Regions from separate parts of the Homo sapiens genome. Here region 2 is linked to region 1. The links are contacts of gene promoters, found by promoter capture Hi-C in human tissues and cell types (Jung and others, 2019). All regions are on one chromosome and are shown on one strand. The core of a region is centred on a gene start or on the middle of the fragment in contact, and the rest is flanking DNA. Distances in the headings are between cores, read along the strand shown.

Evidence for each region. The method cuts DNA at HindIII sites, captures the fragments that hold promoters and counts their contacts. A contact is called where the count stands out against the background at its distance.
Region 2: a fragment that was not itself captured here is called in contact with the fragment with the promoter of DEFA4 in region 1 in 4 of the 25 tissues and cell types used here (liver, mesendoderm cells, pancreas and 1 more).

Annotation. Positions count from the first base shown.
Region 1 is chr8:6,937,056-6,944,519 of GRCh38, reverse strand. DEFA4 (defensin alpha 4) reads left to right here and starts at 6,214. Exons shown (of 3, transcript NM_001925.3): 1 at 6,214-6,294. RefSeq lists a silencer at 6,409-6,478. The HindIII fragment of the contact is 4,214 bases long and covers 4,704-7,464 here.
Region 2 is chr8:7,085,747-7,093,210 of GRCh38, reverse strand. It overlaps the pseudogene LOC107986875. Among named protein-coding and RNA genes, the nearest start is that of DEFA5, 33 kb to the right of the region's middle. RefSeq lists enhancers at 426-1,119, 3,393-4,152. The HindIII fragment of the contact is 7,338 bases long and covers 731-7,464 here.

The sequences.
Region 1 (7,464 bases), core at 4,965-7,464:
GGCTGCTACACCTGCTCTCCCTTTTCCTGGACCCATCCAGGTTTCTGCAGCACTCACCCAGCCCCTCCTGGCCTCTGCTCTGATGTTCTCTCCACAATGAGGCTGCCATGGTGACACTATTGAGCAGCACCCTGCCCCCAACACCGTGTCACCTGGGCACTCCAGGTCACCTCAATGTTATCCTTTTATTCTGTATAATAACCACTGGCTGCATAGTGTATCATACCCATCATAACTTTGCCTATTGTTTGTCTCCTCCACTAAAATATAAGACGGAAACAGTGCTTGCCACTCTGTGGCGCTGGAATCCAAGTAGAGCAGCCACCAGATTGTCCTCCAGGACCATTAAGGCCCTGATTCCAGATACAGTCAAGTTAACAGAGGGCATACAAAGGCCCAGGGCACAACATTTCACAGCAGGAGACTTGGCCAATGCATTCTGCCCATTCCCATCACAGACGGGTCGCAGTCTGTGTTTGCTTTGACTTTGGAAGGGACCCAGTGCACATTTACCAAATTGCACTCAGGCTGTCTCAGTAAGCCAGCTACTGCCCATAACTCGTGCCCCCGGGACTTCCTGTGATTCAGTGTGAACCCCTGTACCTTGTGGCATTACATTGATAGCATTTTCCTCAGAAGCCCCTAGAAGAAGGAAGTGAAAACCATGCTGGTCATTTTAGTGGCTTCCTCCAAGACCATGGCTGGGCCACAACCCACACAAAGTTCAGGCCCCGCACTGCTGTAAAGATTCTAGAGATAACCTGGTCCTCAGTGGGCCACCAAATTCACCTTGCAGTTAAAACCAAAGTCTTCACCATTAGGGTGCCAGCCACTTTGTGGCAGGCCCTGCGCATACTGGGACATTCCGCCTGCACCTACACCTCACTTGTCCATTCTGCAGAGGCCCACAGACACTGTCACCCAGAAGCCCTCCATGTCTTAACTGGGGCCACAGCAGGATACAGCATGCAGCTGGCTCAGCAGGTGGTCTCTCAGGCCATGCCCAGGTCCCGGGTTCTGAGTTTCATATAGAGGCCCTCAGTACCACCAATCATGACTCCCAGAGCCTCTGGAGAAAGCACGTCCATCCTGGCTATGGGCTTCTGCAGGCATAAACTTCCTGGCAGCTGCAGCTCATTATCCCCCGTTAAAAAGCTGGCTACCACTACACACAATGCCCGTATAGACATAGGCACTACAGGACAGGTTCCGGTGCTGCTGTGTCCCCAGACTCCAGCCATGCCCCATGTCTGACTCCTCCTGACAGAGGCTCAGCCATTCATGTCTCCCTGGGAAAATGGGAACAGCACTTGTAGGACAAGGCAAACCTGGCACTTAAGTCCTTTCAAGTGACAGGAAGCTGAGGCCATGGTTTCCCTGTTATTCAGCTCCTGCCTACAAGCAGAGAGAAATAGCAGCAGCGACCCTATTGCCCGAACAATTGGTGACCTGATGAGGCCATGGGAAGAGTTGGACATGGGGAGTCCACATACCTCAGGGAAGGCAGCACTGCCCTGCAGGCCGGGAGCCCACTGGCCGGCAACCACCTCCCACATTTATCACAGCAGGGCCTGCATAGGAGGGGAGGGTATGCTGAGCCCAGCCATACAGCTGGTGGTGCCGGTTGCAGGGGAGGTTGCTGTGGCCATAACCCCCACTCGGGGACAGTTTTTACAGATTCCTGGGCTGTGCCCAACATATTGTGAGTGCCCTGGATCCAATGCCTCTGGAATGGCCTCTGTGGCGTGGACCTGTTTGGGTCAAATTAGGGGACACTCCAGTCCTCCTATAGGTGATTCATGCCTCATGCATTCAGAACAAACATGCCCAGGCTACTTTCCACCACTCGAAGGGTGAGGCATCCACAGTGAGACGACTGCCATCTTTGGCCTCCAGACTGAGCCTGCTGACAGCCCCTGATGTCCTGTCCCCAGGAGGTTAGCGGTCAGATGCACCTCCCAGGGCTTGGGTGAGATCCTCTTATTTTTACAGACTCCAGAATCTCAAGTTCTGTATTCCTCAGGTGCTGACAGAGTGGAGTCCTACAGCCCCAGATCATGAGAGCTACAGCCACATTAGAGGGCAACCCACACCACAGCTGTCTCCCACCATAGCTTCAGGCAAGCAAAACTGTGGCCAGCAATCCCTTGTTCCTGGGCCATCACCCTTTCAGCTGGTGGCAAATGGACTTCACTGGGCCTCTCCCATCACAGCCACCACCTTCTGCTGTGCAGGAGCAGACACACATCCACCGCACTTCCATTGACTCTTCCAACCCAAGGCTCTTGGTAGAGAAAGGTGCTCTCTTTCTGTGACATTTGCTCTATTACCTCTTGTGAACCACCAGATATCACTGATGCAGATCAGGGCTCCCACTTCAGGGTGGTGCTGGGCAACTCAGCATGGGGGTTAGGGGACCCTCACTTAGCCACTGGCCTCCTCAAGCAACACAGTGGCCTCCTAAAGTCATGCTTATTAAAGTTGTGGCATGAGCACAGACTAAGTCAAATTAGGAAAGGCTCCAGTCCCCCTACAAGTGGTTCATCAAGGGAACCAAGCTCCTTTGAGAGCCTTAACTATCTTAATTCTCAACACCATGGCCACCAGCTCTTCTACAATTGGACCAGACCAACCATGGCACCCACCCTGGTGATCACAGAAGAGTTGAGCTCTTTTTCCCTTATGGATACCATCACCCACATTTTCTGCAATAATGAGACCCCCTCATACCATCACAAGATGTCCACTGTCTCAGCATCAAACATTTACTAAAGACTCGATCGAGGATGGACAGTGATAGGGTTTGGCTGTGTTCCCACCCAAATGTCATCTTGAATTCCTATGTGTTGGAGGGACCTGGTGGGAGGTAATTGAATCATGGAGGCAGGTCTTTCCCATGCTGTTCTCATGGTAGTGAATAAGTTTCACAAGATCTGATGGTTTTATATAGGGAGTTTCCCTGCAGAAGCTCTCTCTTTGCCTGCTGCCACCCACGTAAGACTTGACTTGCTCCTTTTGTCTTCTACCATGATTGTGAGGCCTCCCCAGCCATGTGGAACTGTGAGTCCATGAAATCTCTTTCCTGCATAAATCACCCAGTCTCGGGTAGGTCTTTATGAGCAGCATGAAAATGGACTAATACAGATAGTGAGCTGTGATCCTCTGGGGACTGATGGTCCAGGCAGCTGCCACAGAGCAGCCCTAAGATGCTTCTGCTACACCAGACCTCACCTCTTGACATACAGCCTCCAGCAGAAGCTCCAGTTCTTCCTGCTTTGAAAGGTAGCTAATATCTCCCACTCACTCCTCCCTGAAGGAAGTGGGGATTGTTTCTCTGCAGCCCAAAGAGGGTACAGTCTGGGTCACTAAATGAGGAGAAAAAGCCATCAAACTAGAGGACGCCAACTACATCAGACAAAGACCACATGGAACTACCATCACCATGTCCTGTGTCGATTGCAGAAAAATGCTCTGAAGAAATGTTGGTGAAAGCCCACCCCATAATCAATATCGACGTAAAAGTACCTTGAGGAAATCCCTGAGTTATAAGCTGTCAGTGCTCTCTATCTTTGGCCTTGCTGGGTATCTTATGTATGTAAATGTTGTACGGCTGCTCTTAGGCCTGGGGCCTGGCATCCCAGAGAGCTGCTGGAACAGGACAGCCACTGTGAGAAATTGAACCCCAGGCTGGAAAACTGTGGCATGTTGAGGCAATGTGCTAGAGGGGCAAAACCCCAAATGCCACCTGACCTGGATCCAAGCCAGGAAACCCGATCCTTAGATATTGAATGGGACCCATGGCACTAAAGCTTAAACACCAGCAACCCCCACAATCAGAGGCAGGTGGCCCTCCCCATGACCAGGCATGAATACAAACCAGCTAATGATGCCTCAGCACAAACTCAGTCTGTGGCCGGAAAGGTTGGAGCCTCACATGCAGAGAAAGCATTCAAACACGTTCATGGGCTTAGGGATACTTCTGTGCTCCAAAGTATGTGAGTTGTGGATGGAAATGTCCTATCCCCCGACCAAGGAAAGCACCACTCAAGCTTTCACTAAACGCTTCCATGGAGTCCCACAGAGGCCAGAGGCCTGTGCAACACCAGCCCATACCCTCTCTCTTCTTGAGTGACCAGCTGGAAAGGCCACCCCTACCCGAAAGGCCATCACCTCAGAAGACAGTGCTCTGATCCAAGGGTTTGTCCTGGGAAACAGTGGCCTCACCAGAACCAGAGACACCAAGGAATCTCATCTTGACTGTGGGGTCATCCCCAAACCAGACTCACCTTACTCTCCTTCCTGCCGCAAGGTATGGATCTCACCACCCCCGGGACATGGAGTTGGCTCACGTCCAGTACCTGGACCCGTGCTTTCTTAGCTCATGCTTTCCTGAGGACCCTGCAGATGACCCCTTAGAATGGTATTTTGCTGGGATCCCCATTTGTCTTCAGTGTAACCCATTAGTTAAACCGCCTACTGCAAGGAAACCACAAGGCTTGGATCAGATCAGGAGGCTGCCCTACAAGTTATGCCAAAAAATATGGACTTGGAAGACCTGTCTGTTATAATATCACACCCAAATCTAACCAGCTCTGCCAATAACAGCTCTCTCCTATGTTACTAGGAAAATGCCTATGGATTGGAGTGTGTTCTGTGTGCAGGAGGCTGGTCCAGGTTTCACTTCTGCAGGACACTGGACATCCCCACAACCACCAGACCTTCCCCACGTGCACACACACCCCTTCTCATTTTGCCTCTACATCCATATCCACTGGGCCCTTCAGGCACCTACTAATGCCCTAGAACCTAAAACCATCATCTGGGGCCCAGTTCCCCAAATAGCCCTAATTTCTTCCTCTGCTGGAATGAGTCCAGTGCCCACTTCCTCCAAAGGTGAAATTGCTGGGCCTGCAACAGATCAGGAACTCACTGCTTCCTCATAGGGGCAGCCGACTTCACTGCTCTGGAACAGCGACCACCCCTAGCGAGGCTTGAGATGCCTCTTCCCTCCTTAAGACTGAGAGCGCCGCTGCCCCCAGTCCTCCATAGCCCAGTGCCTGCTGCCTTCACGCAGAGCTGCAGGGGAGGCCCTGAGCACCCAGCCTGCTGGACCAGCGCTGTGCACGGCCCTCCCATGGCGGCAGGGGCTGCCTGGACTGCATACTGGGTTCAGCAACCTCACTATAGGTATTCATTCCCTCAGGAACAACTGCATTCTTTTCTCATTTCCAGAAACCTCATCCCGTTTACCTCACTACAAGGAGGAGGATGGTGGAGAGTGGTACATTTTAAAATGTGCACTAGTCTCCCTGGGACTCCCCTTCAAATAACCCAGGAGGGACCACACAAGGGAAAGCTTATGCATCCCCCCCACCCAGTGACCATCTTCCTAACTCTGGGTGTAGGGAGACTCGTAAGCCTACGGGATTGGTTTGGGAACAGGGTATTTGAGCTCACAACACAAGGTGATGCAAGCTAACACCAATCTCGCTGCAGCTTTGGCCACCATCCTAAGGGACTTCTGACAGACATTAGGTGTCACGCAATCATTTGATGAGTCCTTGGCCTGGATGACCTAGACAGTCATTTAGGCTTGAACTATCTAAGGCCAAGCAAAAAGGTGACTGTCCCCTCTAGGGAACCACATGCTATATGCACATCCTTTACTCGGGAGCCTGCAACCTGCCCTATCCAGCAACACAAGCCCAGGCGGTATTCAGTCTCATCCAGGTATTCTCCAACCTTACTTGTCTGAATGGCTTGGATTTGTTTTTATGGTTAGACCCCAGGGCCTGGGGAGGTCAGTTCAGACCACATTCCAAATCCTCATCTGTGTGTGGGTGGCATTTTGATCCTAGTCTCCTCGCAAGGTGTATACAACAATATGCAGGCCAGGCTCTCCTGGTGGCTTTAAATATTCCCTCGGTCCAGGTAGTTCAGCCTCAGCCACCAGCATAGGTATCATGGGGTCAATTGTCTTAGGAGTCATGAGGAATCCATAGTTGATTGCTGCCTGGGCCTGGCCAGGGCTGACCAAAGTAGACGAGGGGTCGGTACCTCCGTGGACTCCTGCTTGAACTCCAGCTTTCTGCCAAATTTCTCAACTGCCCTTGTTAACAGTTATTTAAAGTACCCAATAGAAAGTAACCCTGAAAAATTAGGACACCTGATACCAAAAGACCCTTAAATAAGGAAGTCCTCTCCTCTGTGTGCATGGCTGCTCTTGCTACATAAGACCTGGAACACAGGACTGCTGTCTGCCCTCTCTGCTCGCCCTGCCTAGCTTGAGGATCTGTAAGTAACACAAAACTTAAACTTTCACATTGAGGTTTCAATATTGAAGCTGTGTCCCCAGTCTGACCTCTCACTGTGGGGCCACCCCAGAGGGACCCAGCGGGTGAAGCCCCTGCTGTGAACTTCTATCTGGGTGTCTGGCGGCTGCTGGGGGTAATGGCTACTAGCTAAGTCAATAGAGAAACTCAAAAAGTTTCCTTCCAAACACACGTGTCCTACTTGACATGTCCAATAAAGACGATCACAGCTTCTTAAAACATTATTTTATTGTGAGAGAAGCCTCTGCAGGTCCTAGGTCTGTTTTTCAATCAGGTTGTTTGTTTTTTGCTATTGAGTTGTTTGACTTCCTTATGTATTCAGATATTTACCCCTTCTACCACGTAGGCTTTGCAAACATTTTCTCTCATTTTCTGGGTTGCCGTTTCCCTCAGTTGATTGTTTCCTTTGCTATGAAGATGCTTTAGCGTTCAATGCAGCCCCGCTTGTCTATTTTCCCATTTGTTTATTGCCTGTGCCTTTGGTGTCATAGCCAAGAAATCATTACTCACGTCAATGTCCAAAGCTTTATCTTTGTATGTGCTTCTCGTAGTTGTATGGTTTCAGGTCTTTTCAAGTCTATGTTGAGTCTTCAATCCATGTTGAGCTGATTTTTTACATGCTGTGAGAGAAAGGACCACGTGTATGCACCTAGCAACTCATGAACCTTACACAACTCTTTATCTCTCTCACTGAGCTCATTTCACCTGTACCCTGATAAGGTCATTGTCCTCTTCACTCTGGCCCCTACAGGAGACTACTCACCCCATTACCTCAGTCGCCCCTTCATGAGGGTATAATGACCTAGAAGCCTGCAATGAGTTACTCTCTACTCCACCGGAATACAGGTCTGGCACCAGTGTTTAGACCTGAAGAGAATAGTAGGGCCCATTATCAGGAAATAAGAGGCATTTGCTCTCTTAAATTATTGAATGAAAGCACTGTTTCCATTCTTTTTAGAATATTAAAGATTTAACCAGGAAATATTAGGTATTTCCTGAAAACAGGAAAAAATGCCAGGGTCCTCATCATCACCATCAACTTCAACCTAGCACAGACACTAAACATAGAGCTTCCTGTGAAGAAAGCTGGGAGAGCAGAGGAGCATTCCAGGGATGTCAAGGCCAATAGGAG
Region 2 (7,464 bases), core at 3,150-5,649, 150 kb before region 1:
AGAGGTCAACCCCATTATCCATCAAAAACCATCAAGGGGGCAGCACTCACTGAGGGGTACAGCTCTCCAGCAGGCCTTCATCTGCCCTCCAAACTCACGTGCCTCCCCAGTGGAAGGCCAGCAAAGCCACACAGGAAGAGTTGGGGTAGGAAAGCAGAAAGTGAACCCCAGGAGGCCAGGCTGGCCACGGAGCCCCATCCCACACACACAGGCCCGGTGACTCAGGGGCCCACGTGTGCAGGACACCGGGAGCTCATAGGGACAGCGCCCCGGGGGATGCAAGGAACTTTGCCTCTCTGTCCCTCTCTGTAGGGATGGAAAGAGAACAATTTCTGGGATGGAAGCCATCTGCCTCCTCTCAACTCTGGCTGCCCAACTAGAAAGGGAAAAAAAAACAGGAAGATGCGGGACAGGTGAGGAGCTGGGTGAGCGCCACCAGCCCGCAGCCCAGCAGAGCAGGGCTTGGCCAAGCCTGGCGCCAGGGACTTCCCCCCTGCCCCCACCACATGCCCCTCGCCAGGTGAGAGGCACCGACAGACTCCCAGACAGATGTCCCAGACAGGATGCCCAGCGCAACACCCGCCACTTCCCCTGCTGGGGGCCCCCAGGACACGGGGCTGCCCCTCCCCTTTTGGCCAGCCACAGAGTCCAGCGGGTATCCCAGCCAGGGACCTCGTGGGAGAATCAGGAAGTCGAAGCCACACAGCCGAGAAGGGGCAGCTGGCGTCTCGGAGGCCGTCACGAGCTGTCACTCCGCGCCCGCCGGACTTGCCGCTCAATTACCAACTTCAACCCGGGACCGGCCACGGAGCCTCCCGCCGCCTCTACCCCGCGTCCCCGGCACCTCCGCGCCCCCGGCAGCCCCGGACCCCCGCGCCCGCGTCACTTACTCCTCTGCCGTCGCCACCTGTCTAGGTGCCGGTCTCCTCCCTGCCCGGCCGCAGCGCGTCCTCCCCGTCCTCGCAGTCCTCGGGCTGTGCGCTTCCCCCCTCCAGCAACAGCCGTAGCCTCTTCTCTTCGGGAGGGACGTCGTCCTCCTCCCTCCTGGGCCGGCCATCCCTGCCTCGGGGCTTGCCAGTGGCTTCGGAGCTGCCGGAAGGGCTGGCCATGGCTCCAGGGGCTCTGCCTGCACTTGGGAAGAAGAAGCACCCGGCGCGAGCGGCCTCTCGGCGGAGCTGGGGCGTCTGAGCGCGGGCTCGTTGGGTCCGCGCGGCGCGGAGCTGGGCATCCGGCTGGCGCGGGCTCCTCCGCGGGCCGCTCCTGGCTCTCTGGCGCCCTCTGCTGGCCTCTCCCGCGCAGCGCGGACACGCCGGGCCCGGGACTGCGCCGCTCTCACCTGTCCTGGCCCAGGCGGTCGCTGTCCCTTGCCCGTGGCCAGGCCCGCTCTGGCCAGGCCCTGCACCTCCTCCCCGCCCCAGCCAGGTTGCACCCCGATAGTCTCCCTGCCCAAGGAGGAGAGAAGACAAGGGACGCCCGGATAGGGTGGATATCGGCCACAGCCACCTTGTCTTTGCTCTTACCCTGTTTCTTCCATGATTTGGAGGGGGTGGGAAACCCGAGGCTGCTCAAAACTCGTGGAGAATTCCGCCTGCAGGATGACATGAATGCACCTTCGCATTGCCTACCAACAGATCTTTTTTGAGCATCACTGTGGACCAGGCGTGGTGATGGGGGAGGGGATATTGCGGTGAACATGACAGGCATTGCCTTCATCCAGTGGGGCTCAGCGCTGGGTGAGAAGGCATTGAGAATGGACATTGTCAATTCGGCCAAAGGAGGCCAAGGAGAAGTGCTGGGGGCATGGGAACTGAAAAAGACAGGAGGCTCAGCCGGTCTTGCAGCTGGGAGAGGGACAGCAGCAGCGGCTGTTCCAAAGGAAGCAACAGCTGAGAGAGGTCTCAGAGAGTTGTTCTCAGCCCAGTGGAGGGTGTTCAGGCAGAGGGAACAGCGTGTGCAAAAGCCCAGAGGCTGGGAAAGAAGCAGAAAGAGGACTGTGGGGCTGGAGCGTGGTGGGCAAGGGGCGACAGGCGTGGTGGGCGGACAGATTGCCTGGGACCCAGCCGTGCAGGGGCAGAGGAGATAGGGGATCCTTGCAGACCCTCAGCCAGGGCTCAGGCACAGAGACAGTGCAGGTGGGCAAAGGGAGGAGACGTGGAGAAATATTTTGGAGGCATGCCCTGATGAATGAGCCCAGGATGCACCCTTAGTGTCAGTGTGGAGCTCCTTCCTTGGCTGTGTGATGAGCTGAACCCGGGCGTATTTTCTGGACATCGAAGTGCTACACCCAGAGTCCAGGACAGGCTAAGTGAGCACCAGCAGCTCCTGGCCCATCTCAAAAGCAGGAGAGACAGGGGAGACTGGGGAGGCCAGGGAGGAAGGGGAAGCCAGGAAGTCAGGAGAGGCCAGGGATGCAGAGGAGGCCAGGGAGTAAGGGGAAGCCAGGAAGTCAGGAGAGGCCAGGGATGCAGAGGAGGCCAGGGAGGCAGCGGAGGCAGGACAGGCTGGGGAGGCTGTGTCCTTTCCATGATTCTGCCCAGGATCCTAGGCCCCTGTACTCCCTGAGCTTCCCCACCGCAAGCGCTGGAACCATGTTGCACAATGGTCTCCCCACTGAGCTCCTGATGGCAGCCCCTACACTGCTGTGCTCCCTATTTCAACCCTAACAGCTCTCACAGTGGGCAGCACATAGTAGGTGCTCAGGAAACACTGGTGGGAGAGCACGTGGGTCTGCTCAACTCTTTCCTCTCTCCTCCAGCTCTCCCCTGTCACGAAATAATTCTGATAACGACACATGGGCTTTGAGACCCTCTTCTATTACTTTCCAAATGCTAATCCATCTATACCTCACAGCAGCCCTGGGGGTGGGTGCAATGAGGATTCCCATTTTATAGAGGAGGAGACTGACATATAAAGAGGGTAAATGACATAGGCACACTACAAGGGCTGGGGCCAAGTGGTCACAGCACTCAATCCCCAAAGGCAAGGTGGATGCAGTTACCATAAAAGACAGCAGAGTCAAAGCTGCAACCAGAATAGCCTGACTCGCAGAGACCTATGGTGCCAGCTGATCGTGGCTTTCCTAGAAGTGAAAGAGATAAGAAGCCTGCCACATTTTTACTTGATCTGTGTTTGCAGAAGAGTTCTAGGTCAGGTGAGCAGAAGTGTAATCTGAATCATAAAAACAGAGTCACAGTCTCCCGTCAATTCCCAGACGTGAGCCAGTTCACAGACCCGGAGTCACTTGTCTGAATGGGAAGCCAGGTTCCCTCCAGAAAGGACTCTGCTACACTGCCAAAAATTAATACTGTCCATCTTTCTCCCAGCCTGCGCCCAAGGGAATACACAGCCTTTTACCAGGATGACTGAATAGGAGAAAAGGAACTAATGGGACCTGTGCAGGATCACTGGACACAGGCTCTGAACTGGCACTAGGGTGAGACTAGGGTCTACTAGTCAGAATAGGCATTTTGGAGGTCAGGTGAATGTTGGTGCAAGTTCATGTCATGGTAGATCCATTGGGTCCCCAAATCCAACCTCTGGTTATATACAAAGTGGCCATGTTGAGATTTAAATTCAGGGTATCCAACTTAGAGGCTGGGCTCTTACTCATGAAACATTCTGACACTACTAACCAATTTAAAAATGCAAACACCTCCTGGGGCTAGCCAGAGTACTCCAAACAGTCATGTAAATTGGTTCTGTCAAGGATTTCCTCCTACACACCCCCCCCACCCCAACCCGAGAGCCAGTTGCAAGGAGAGACTAGGGAAGGGCATTGGGTAACTTTGTTGCTAAAAGTCTTCTGGATAAAGAAGAGCTTTATCCAGGAAAAAGAAGCAAAATAGAGTTCAGCAGAAGTTGAGAAAAGAAGCAAATAGAGTTCAGCAGAAGAGGTAAGAAAGTAAGTTTATGTTTGACCAGGCATGGTGGCTCACGCCTGTAATCATAGCACTTTGGGAAGCCAAGGCAGGCAGATCACGAGGTCAAGAGATCACACCATCCTGACCAACATGGTGAAGCCCCGTCTGTACTAAAAATTCAAAAATTAGCTGGCCATGATGGCACAGGCCTGTAGTCCCAGCTACTCGGGAGCCTGAGGCAGGAGAATCACTTCAACGCAGGAGGCAGAGGTTGCAGTGGGCCGAGATCATGCCACTGCATTCCAACCCGGTGACAGAACAAGACTCCATCTCATAAAACAAAACAAAACAACCAAAAAAGTAAGCTTATTTTTAAGCCTGAACAAGTGTAGTGGTTTAGGGGTTCTGCAAACACGGCCCCAATCAGGCTACAGTATGTAGTGGCAGCAATATTTACACCCAGTCACTCCTGGCCGGCTGAGCCACTTTTCAAAACACCCTTGCACGGCTGCGCAGAGCGACTGGCTCCACTGGCAGCCAGCAGAGCCATAACTCACACTGTCACCACTGCCCTCAAACCCCTTCGGTAAGCACGTTTTTTGAGACGGAGTCTTGCTCTGTCATCCAGGCTGGAGTGCAGTGGCACAATCTCGGCTCACTGCAAGCCCCGCCTCCTGGGTTCATGCCATTCTCCTGCCTCAGCCTCCCAAGGAGCTGGGACTACAGGTGCCCGCCACCATGCCCGGCTAATTTTTTGTATTTTTAGTAGAGATGGGGTTTCACCGTGTTAGCCAGGATGGTCTCAATCTCCTGACCTTGTGATCTGCCTGCCTCGGCCTCCCAAAGTGCTGGGATTACAGGCGTGAGCCACCGCGCCCGGCCTGGTAAGCACTTTTAATCAATGCAACGGGAATAAACATTTGCAGCAGAGCGGCAATGTGCAGGGAGGAACATGCTTCCACTCAGGCTCAGAAAGCAAAACCTCCTGGCTGTTTATGTCTCTGCAAGAGCTCACAGCAAAAGCCCTCTGTGTGGCTGCCAGCCTCACACACTCCCCCCAAGGGATGAGTTTCTCTTTCCATGTTAATCTATGTTCTGTCGTGCCATCTGTCAACCACCACACCATTCTCAGTTGACATTTCAAAGCATCTTTGCCCTGTGAATGGTCACCAGCCCTGCCCTGCAAGCCCCCAGCTGACATTGAACTGAAATGAGAGAGAAAACAGGCTTCGGGGTGGATTTCAGTTCAGCATCTTGGAGTCTCTGTGTGGACATGAAATCTGTCTCCCCAGCTGTGGGCTGCATCTTTGTTTGTCATCTGGCTTGGTTCTTGGGGACTTGGAAACTCGTAGGCACCTTTGCAATTTGTCAAGAAGCTGCACGGCCCTTCCAACAAAAGCAAGGAATAGGAACAGAAGCCCAAGGCTTCAGATCAAGGTGCAACTTAAAACAGCCTCAGTGTAAAAGCAAACAAGAGTCAGAGGGATGCCTAAGGCAGAGTCTAGTTCCCAGGGCAGCTATAAGGCAAAGAGAAAGAGAGAGAGGACAGAGACAGAAAGAAGAGAGAGATGGGAGGAGACATGAGGCACCCAGTCCTCTGGATCAAAATCCCTACAAGAGGGGCCTCCTAAAAATGCAGGAGGCTGAGGTGGGTGCACACAGAAGTTCAAGACTAGCCTGGGCAACATAGCAAGACCGTGTCTTTACAAAAAATACAAAAATTAGCCGGGTGTGGTGGTGTATGTCTGTGGTCCCAGTTACCCAGGAGGCTGAGGTGGGAGGATGGCTTGAGCCCAGGAGGTAGAGCTGCAGCGAGCTGAGATAGCACCACTGCACTCCAGCCTGGGCAACAGAGTGAGACTTCATCTCAAAAAAAATTTAAAAAATTTTTAAAAGGATCACCCTGGCTACTTGAATGGGTAATTAGAAGGTAAGAGCAGAAGCAAGGAGACCAGCAGGGACATTCTGCAGGTGGGAGTCCACAGTGGCTCAGACCAGGCTGACGCTGAAGACTGGCTGAATTCTGTATATATTTTGATGATGAAGCAACTCACCGACTCTTGAAGAGTGGGCTCTAGGAGACTGCATTTTTAACAAGCTCTCAGAGAATGCTAATGCAGGCTGCAGTTGCAGAACTGGTTTAGGTGAAGCTTCTGTTTCATCCTTGGGGAAGTACCTACTGACTTTTCTCTAAGCCACCTCAAAAGAGGTGCTAGACAAGATGTGCTCCAATGTCTGAACATGTGTGCACAGCTCTAGAGCCAACCTCAGGACACTGAGTCAAAGGTTAGGAGTACAACAGTGAACAACCACTGTCCTCTTTTCAATGAGCTTTGCATTTAATGAGAGAAATAAAAAGCAAAAAAAAAAAATCATTTTCAACTCAGAATGGTAAGAGTTATGGTGACAGTATGCCTGGGGCAATGGGAGCACATAGAAGGGGCACCCAATCGGCCAGGTGCAGTTGTTCATGTCTGTAATCCCAGCACTTTGGGAGGCCAAGGTGGGTGGATCACTTGAGGCCAGGAGTTCGAAAACAACCTGGCCAACATAGTGAAATCCTGTCTTTACTAAAAATACAAAAAAATTAGCCAGATGTGGTGGTGGTCACCTGCAATTCCAGATACTCAGAAGGCTGAGGTGGGAGAATTGCTTGAACCCGGGAGGCGGAGATTGCAGTGAGCCAAGATCGCGTCACTGCATTCCAGCCTGGGTGGCCAGAGCGAGAGTCCGTCAAAAAAAAAAAAAAAAAAAAGCCCGGAGGTGGGTGGGCATGCAATCTCTATCAGGTGGTGAGAAATCCTTCTCCACCACAGGACTCCTCAGTTGAAGACTAGAAAATGGTAGGAACTAGCCAGGTCGATAGGAGAGGTGTGGAAGATCATTCTCAGCAGAGGGAAGAGCATGTGCAAAAATCGAGACGTGAGAGGGTGAGGAGCTGAGAGATGTTCATATAATTGTAAAAAGTGACTAATGTAGAGGTAAGTTGGAGCCAAATCTTAAAGGCTCTTTGTCGTGTTTATCCTGTAGACAAAGGGAGACAGTAGATGTTTTTAGGCAGGGGAGTCATGATCCACTTTGTGCTAGAAGAAGAGCAGTCTGGCTGAAGGAGAGTGGGAGGTGAGTAGACCAGGTAGGAGGCTGCAATACACCAAGTGAGACAAGATGGTTGGCTGGACCAAGGCTGTGGCAGTGAGGATGGAGAGGAGACAGTAGACTAACTTGACTGAGAAAGAGGGAGGAATGAAGGAGGAGGCCCAGGTGTTTTGGAAGCTGGGTGGATGGTGGTGTGGATCTGATGTGGCGAGCCCAGGCCGAAGAGGAAATCAGGAGAGGCAAGGTAAGATGAGATCAATGCAAGACAGACAGCCAAGTGGAGATAAACAGTGGGCAGTTGCATTCATCAACCTGGAGTTATACAGAGAGCTCTGGAATGGAAATAAAGAGGAAAGGACTTTGGGAATAGGTGAATCCTCCCTGAATAACGTGTAGAGAAAGGAGAATAGAACACAGGGGACAGAAAAAGGGAAGAGATTTGTTATTAAAAGCAACCATCCATCAGACATCTTCCAATAAAACACTTGTTAGAGGTTTCCTCAGTGTG